Linked DNA regions of Homo sapiens: region 1 is linked to region 2. Evidence: promoter capture Hi-C in 16 types of primary human blood cells and fetal thymus (Javierre and others, 2016). All regions are on one chromosome and are shown on one strand. Each heading gives the region's core, a stretch centred on a gene start or on the middle of the fragment in contact. The rest is flanking DNA. Distances are from core to core; before and after follow the strand shown. Region 1 holds the start of HNRNPD (heterogeneous nuclear ribonucleoprotein D). Region 2 holds the start of CNOT6L (CCR4-NOT transcription complex subunit 6 like).

What was found. Contacts are between HindIII fragments. The CHiCAGO score rates a contact against its expected background, and 5 or more counts as called.
Region 1: a contact is called between the fragment with the promoter of HNRNPD here and the fragment with the promoter of CNOT6L in region 2, in 2 of 17 cell types (fetal thymus and non-activated CD4 T cells). The highest score is 13.0, in fetal thymus.

Annotation. Positions count from the first base shown.
Region 1 is chr4:82,372,036-82,375,733 of GRCh38, reverse strand. It overlaps HNRNPD (heterogeneous nuclear ribonucleoprotein D), which reads left to right and starts at 1,743. Exons shown (of 9, transcript NM_031370.3): 1 at 1,743-2,288. The coding sequence starts at 2,056. It overlaps HNRNPD-DT (HNRNPD divergent transcript), which reads right to left and starts at 1,166. Exons shown (of 2, transcript NR_183813.1): 1 at 1,069-1,166. RefSeq lists enhancers at 1,615-1,784, 3,145-3,194 and a silencer at 2,145-2,244. The HindIII fragment of the contact is 7,055 bases long and covers 617-3,698 here.
Region 2 is chr4:77,817,719-77,821,182 of GRCh38, reverse strand. It overlaps CNOT6L (CCR4-NOT transcription complex subunit 6 like), which reads left to right and starts at 1,815. Exons shown (of 12, transcript NM_144571.3): 1 at 1,815-1,879. The coding sequence starts at 1,875. RefSeq lists silencers at 769-918, 1,179-1,338, 1,379-1,478, 1,969-2,038, 2,119-2,518. The HindIII fragment of the contact is 6,822 bases long and covers 1-3,464 here.

The DNA of each region.
Region 1 (3,698 bases), core at 494-2,993, 4.6 Mb before region 2:
CGGGAGTTTGGTAAGATTATATTTTTAGGACGTTTTCAGAATTTGACCTGTATTCTTGAGTTTTAATTATTCTGTAATGTAAATTCTACTAACTTGATTAATAAAACTTACTTATAATCTTCCTTTGAGATTTTTGGATAGTGTCCAATTAATACAAATTCGTTTAACTGCAGTGGAAAATACCTAAACTTTTTTTTTTTTTTTTTTTTTGAGACGGAGTCTCGCTCTGTCGCCCAGGCTGGAGTGCAAGTGGCATGATCTCGACTCCCTGCAATCTCCACCTCCCGGGTTCAAGCGATTCTCCTGCCTCAGCCTCCTGAGTACCTGAGATTACAGGTACCGGCCACCACGCCCGGCTAATTTTTGTATTTTTAGTAGACACGGGGGTTTCACCATGTTGGTCAGGCTTGTCTCGAACTCCTGACCTCGTGATCCGCCCGCCTCGGCCTCCCAAAGTGCTGGGATTACAGGCGTGAGCCACCGCGCCCGGCCCAAATACTTAAACTCTTAAGATTTTTGCTGGAGTCTGCAAACTCGTCTTTGTTTCCCCCGTGCCCGAACACTTTAATTAAACAGGCAAATAATTATTTGTTGACTACAGAAGTACCTAGAAGCTTCATTTTCTTCTAAGGATACTGCTGGAAGCAGCAAATCCCAAAGCCCGAATAATCCAGTCTCCAGCCGAGGCAGCGGGAATTTTTAATAGGTGTATAAAATTACTTTTTATACACCTTAATGAAACGCCTAACGGTGTTACAAGAAAAGAAAAAAAAAAACCACGCACACACAACAAAAAAGCCAAACCCGAACACAAACTCATAAACCTCGTAAAGATGACTCACGACATTTATATATTCTATGTACAAAGGCTAAAGAACATTAAGCGAACCCTTGATTTAACACACTTTCCAATTATTAGTAACGTAAAGGAATCACGGTACGTTTTAGGATCTTTAAACAACAAAAGCAAAGCAAAAACAATGTTTTCCTTAAGATATGCAAGTTACCTGCTTCTTCGACCAAAAACAAAAAAATTCCAGGAGAAAAGCAGGCAAACAAAAATCTTACTTGGAAAGCCAAATCTTAAAAAGAAGCCCTATCGGCCCAGCGGCGATAGACGAAAACCTCAATGTCACCCGGTCCCGGGCGGCGACGGCAGGGAGAGTAGCTGCGGCAATCAGTGCGCGCGCGGTCCGCTGCGGCGCCTGGCGCTCCGCGGGCGTCCGGGTGGACAGCGCCAGGGGCACAGGGCTGACATCTCAGGGCTAATTCCCTCCTCCAGTGCGTAAATCCAGGCTTAAGCCGCCGCAGGGTGTGAGCCTCCCCTCCCCCACCCGAACGCCGCAGCTGCACGGGGCACGACAGCCTTCGCAGAGGTGCAGCCACACCCCGGCCTAACGCTGCTGCTCCCGCCGCTACTGGAGTGGTGGGGAGGGGTGAGTGGACTCCAGGAATCCTCGGAAGGGCGGGGGCGGAGGCAGGGGGCCCCTCTAGCCGCTACTTCGAAACAGCACTCCTTGTTCTCGATGGTCCCCGCGCGACTGTCTTAGCTCACGACACTTCCGGTTCCTTTTAAAGGCCCCCAAGGCTGTGCAACGCGGAGCGTGAGAGGAAGGTATAAAGGGTAGCGAGAGGGCGGGACCGAGGAGGAAAGGGAAAAAAAAAAAACTAGGGGGATAGGGGTGGGGGGACGCGCGAAGGGCGCGCTCTCGCGTCACGTGACCGGGACGCGCCGTTCTTCCGTCGGCCATTTTAGGTGGTCCGCGGCGGCGCCATTAAAGCGAGGAGGAGGCGAGAGCGGCCGCCGCTGGTGCTTATTCTTTTTTAGTGCAGCGGGAGAGAGCGGGAGTGTGCGCCGCGCGAGAGTGGGAGGCGAAGGGGGCAGGCCAGGGAGAGGCGCAGGAGCCTTTGCAGCCACGCGCGCGCCTTCCCTGTCTTGTGTGCTTCGCGAGGTAGAGCGGGCGCGCGGCAGCGGCGGGGATTACTTTGCTGCTAGTTTCGGTTCGCGGCAGCGGCGGGTGTAGTCTCGGCGGCAGCGGCGGAGACACTAGCACTATGTCGGAGGAGCAGTTCGGCGGGGACGGGGCGGCGGCAGCGGCAACGGCGGCGGTAGGCGGCTCGGCGGGCGAGCAGGAGGGAGCCATGGTGGCGGCGACACAGGGGGCAGCGGCGGCGGCGGGAAGCGGAGCCGGGACCGGGGGCGGAACCGCGTCTGGAGGCACCGAAGGGGGCAGCGCCGAGTCGGAGGGGGCGAAGATTGACGCCAGTAAGAACGAGGAGGATGAAGGGTGAGTAAGGGGCATCCCAGGATAGTCAGGCCCAACTAGTCCCCCTCCCCCTCTTTATTCCCCCGCCATTAGGCCTGGTTCCCGCTCTCAGCCCGTTCTCCGGGCCCCCATGCAGCCTCCTTGCACTGGTCTCCCTTTTTCTATGTTGGGTTCCCCGGACCTTCATTTCCTTCTTCCTTTGCCTGCTTATCGCCCCCCTCCCCCATCACACACGTTTCCACCTTTAGCCGTCACCATGCTGCTCCTCGGCCCGCCCTCCTTTCCTCCCTCGCCATGGGTCTCCTCCCACCGACTTAGCCGCCAGGATTTTTTCCCGCCTGTCGTGGGGTACCTTTTTTCTTTCCATGCTGTCCCCTCTTTTTCCCTTTTTCTACAGTCTTGGGCATAAAAACACAGACACAAACAGCTTCTCTGTTTGTATTACTAAGGTTTATTTGGTGCTTCTCCACCATCCTGAAACGATGCGATTGTTTATAAGCACATGTTTTGGGGAACGCGTAGGCTGTCCACCTCTGCCTCTCCCTTGTCGGCCTTAGGCCGACTGTTTTCTTGGGATTTTGAATAAGTTTCGCCTAAGGATTTACTCATTTTCTCCACCATACGCTATCGCACAATGGCATACTCATACAGGCCCTACATTTTGACATGCAGACCAAATTGGGTCTGGTGAAATGCTCCGAGTTTCTTGTTGGTACATTGGTTTTGCTCCGCGGGCTCTGGTTAAGTTCTTAGTCGATCGGGCCTGCACTTGACTGGAGCTGTTCCTATCTCCGGCCTAGCATCTACCCTTCCCCCACCCCACTGAGTTATTCTAACCGCGCACCCTTTTCGCGCCCTCAGCTATTGGGTTCCCCAACTGTTAGTACAGATTGTACCTTACTTTTTATGTGCAACCTAATTTTTTACAACCCCCAGCCCCCTTTTTTTCCCGGTGCCCAGGATCCTATTTTGGTGTCTTGATATCTGTTTCCCGCCCACTAAGGGAGGCCTGTAGTCCTCTTAAGAGAAACAAATCCTGTATTGTGCTATGGGATACTTTTTTTTTCTTTTTGGTGCAAATTTCTTAGTATTAACTTGCTTCCTCCAATTGAAATAACAGTTGTATATACTACCTAAATCTGCATTTAGTGTATTAAAATGCAGCATTTGGGATTGGGAACATAATACGGGAGTTAGCAGGAGGGACTAAATCAGGTTTCTTGGTTGAGTTTTCTTAGCTCCGATTACTGACCGATGATCGTGGGTTCACGCTTCCATTCCTTTTTGTAATGGGGAGGGGTGTGTGTGTGTCTGAATTTTTTTTTAACTGTAAAGAGAAAGGTGTTGGTGGATATAACAAGATGTCGCTTTAATCTAGTATTAGAAAACACGATTTCCTTTACTGAGAAAGAGCCCAGGATTTGGAGGGAA
Region 2 (3,464 bases), core at 566-3,065:
TAATAAGGCCTAAGATGAATTGCAACCAACGCAACGTGCTTAGTGTGCTAAACACTCCTGTGGGGGAAAAAATACTGAACATTGCTAATATACCCTTGACCAACACTGGTAAATACACGAGCCCGGGCATGCATTGAGAAAGAGATTAAAATTGTGCAAAACTGCAACAGCAGTACTCTGCCTCCACAGCCGGTGTAATTTGCTTTTTGGACTGCTGGCCCAAAAAAGCTGAAGCTGGCCCACAAAAACAAAAACAAACCCCAGAAACTTAAAGTATCACAGCCAGGTTCACCAAGTAAACACTACTATTTCTAGTTTGCATTTGGATGTTTTCATTCTGTAGATGGCATGGATAAGCTACAAACAACAAACTAAAGTCTACAACGAGAAGGGAGAATTAGAAAATAGGACCGGGTTATCGCTGAGCGTCACAGGTTCTTTTATTTACCTTTGACGATACAACTTACAGATGCTATATGTTTTTAAAAAAAATCCACCGAATATGTCAGGAAACATTTCCTTCGGTCACTTCACCTCCCCTGGCGTCTCAGCCACCTAGACCTACGCTCTGCTTCGCTGTCAGGTCGCCTCGGGCGAGGAGGGTGCAGTAAACAGCGCCCACACAAGAACCCGGGGTGAGGCGGTTTCCCGTCTCTTCGCCAAGGCTCTGTGGATGTGGGTTTCTGAAACTCTACCACTCTTCTCAGCCCCGCTCCTCGCTCAGGCCAGGAAAAAAGAGTGAGAAAACAGCCAGAGCAAAACAGAAAACCATTAAGAAGCCCGGGCCTCCGCGCGCTCACCGCGACAAAACGCGGCGCACGGGGGGCGGGGCCAAGGCGCTGCGTAGGAGCTCCGCCCCGTCACCGCCCCGCCTCCTTCCCCTCACCCCAACCCTCCGCGCCGGGGAGTGACTGACTCCCGCCAGCCCCTCCACGTCAATCAACCCTCCTCGTTCTCGCACTCTCTGCACCTTGTTATTAATCTCAATACCGATATCGCCCGGACGCCTCTCCCCCGGCCCTCGGGGGTGTGAACGTGTGTGAGCGGGAGCGAAGGCACCGAAAGCTGGCGTCTCTGTTCAACCTCGGCCCCAGCAGCACCCGGCGCAGCGGCAACCCCCGCAGCGGCGGCAGCCCCAGCACCAGGAGGCCAAGGCCAAGGCCAGGCTCTGCGTGGCTCTCGGAGCAGTAGCCGCGGCTCCGGCCCTGCGGGGGCGCAGCTTCCTTCGGCTGGGGCCTTCGCGCCGGCGGCCGCGGCCGCGGGGCCTCTCTTGCGCGCCTGGGGTCACTGTCCTCGAAGCCCGGCGGCGCGGCCCTCGTCCCCCTTCCCGACCCCCGGTCTGTCTCCTCGCTCCCTTCAGCCGCCTTCCGCGCCGCCGCCTCTGCCGTTCGTCAGGCGGCCCGGCCCGGCCCGCCCGCCCCGCATCCCCTCCGGCCGGTGCCTCTCCCCTCCGGCGGGCTGCCTGCATGTCTTTGCTGCCCTCAGCCCCGCCGCCACCGCCGCCGCCGCCTCCCCCGCCGCCGCAGCACCAGCACCAGCCGCCCCGTCGCCGCCGCCGCCGCCGCCGCCCGGACCCCGGCGCGCTGAATGCAGGTGAGGAGGGGGCGCGGGCCCCCCGAGACCCCGGGCCCGGGTTCCCTGCGCGCCCGCCCGCGAGCCCCGGTTACGGGCCCTGTGTGCCGCCGCGGCTTCCCCTCGGGGCGGGCGGGAGCGAGGCCCGCCGTGGGTGTTTGTGTTTGCGTCTGCGTCTGCGGCCGCGGCTCTGGAGGGGAAGCATCTGTGGGGGCCTGGTGCGCGCGCGCGCGCGTGTTTGTGTGTGTGTTTCCCCTGCCGCGGGGAAATGGCTGCTGTTGCTTCTGGGCCAGAGGAAGAGAATGAGGTAGAGTGTTCTTTTGCCTCCGAGTAGGACCGAGAGTGTTGGGAAGAGGAGCGCGTCCCCGGGGAAATGAGGTGGGAGAGGGACAAATGTGCGTGTGGGTGTGCGAGTTGGGACTTTGGCGGGCGGGGAGGCGGCCCGAGGACCCACGGCGAGTGGGTGTGTGTCGGGTGACTGGAGGGGGCGGCGGGGCTGACCCGCGTCTCTTCAGAGGCGGGCGAAGGTTCCGGGGTGTGTGTGTGTGTGTGTGTGTGTGTCGGGGGTGGCCCGGGGCCGGGACCCCAGAGTGGCGTGTCCCTCCCGCTTTGTGGCTGCGGCTCCCGAGCCTCGCAGGTGAGAGCTGCTCCTAGGGGGCCGGCCGGGGAGGGCTGAGTGAGTGCGGCACACGCGCGGCAGCGGGGCTGGGAGAGCTGCTGGTCGGTGCCGCGCCGCTGATCCCGGGGCCGCCGTTCCCCGGCCGCGGCAGGAAGCGCGCCGGCCTGCAGCGCGGCCTAACTGCCTGGGCGCCCGCCCACCTCCCCGGACGCCTCCCGGGACGGCGAGCCCGCGCGAGCCCACGGCGCTGCCTCGGGCCTGGGCAGGTGAGGGTCGGAGGCGGGACTCGCCGATTGCCGTCGCCGTGGCCGCCTCCGCGTCTCCTGAGAGGCGAAGGCTTATTTTGGCGTTCCAACTGCAAGCCTTCGCCCGGCCGGCTGTGGGACCCGAGGGAGGAAAGTGAATCAGAACAGTCAGTCTTGGGAATACGCGGTGTCGTGTTCCCTTCTTTTCATCCTTCCCCTAAGGCTGTGTGGAGGGACTGAGTAAATATTTTGGATTTTTGTTGCAAATACTTTGCCGTTGGTAAGATTTTTTTTTTTTTAATTAGACAAACATTTTCTTGGAAGGGCTGAGGAAGAAAGGGAAACTGGCTTTCCTGGCCTGTGGGATTGGATGGATTTTGTGCATTTGAAATTGTTTTATCCTGCCTCCTAGGGGGAGAGGCGTGTACGCGCCGCCGAGCTGAGGAGCTGGGTGAGGAAGAGGAAGTTACTGGAGCTGTCATCCTGCTTAACTCGGTCGGCTATTGAGCTTAGACTGTTTAGGTGGATTGTGTTCAGGGAGTTTAGCTGAGCCGTTTGTACACATTGGAAGCACAGTGTTACATTTTACCGTATTGCCTCTAGTTATCTTGTCAATCAAGATAGGCTCAACAAACATGTTTTCCTCAGTCTCCAAAAACTAGATCAAGCAACCTCTGTTGTCTACTCAGTATGTGCTGCTGGAAAGCTATTTTGAGAATAGCCTAAGCAAAACCCAGTTGTAAAGATAAACCTGCTGCCAATAGGTCTACAGTACATTTCAGAACCAAATACAAATGGCATTTGGATAATTATTTGCTAATGTGCTTTTCTACTCCAACCTCATTACATTTGTATGTAGTTAGATCATTTAGCTAGAACCGTGCTGTGGATAAAAGCATAATACAGTTTCGATCCTTGTAGGCCGTACTCTGTGTCATGGCCAGAGATTGCTCTTTGCACCTGGTCTCACAAAGAAATAGTGTATGCTGTTCACGGGGAAGTGGAGGGAAGAGAAGGAGGGGCGAAGA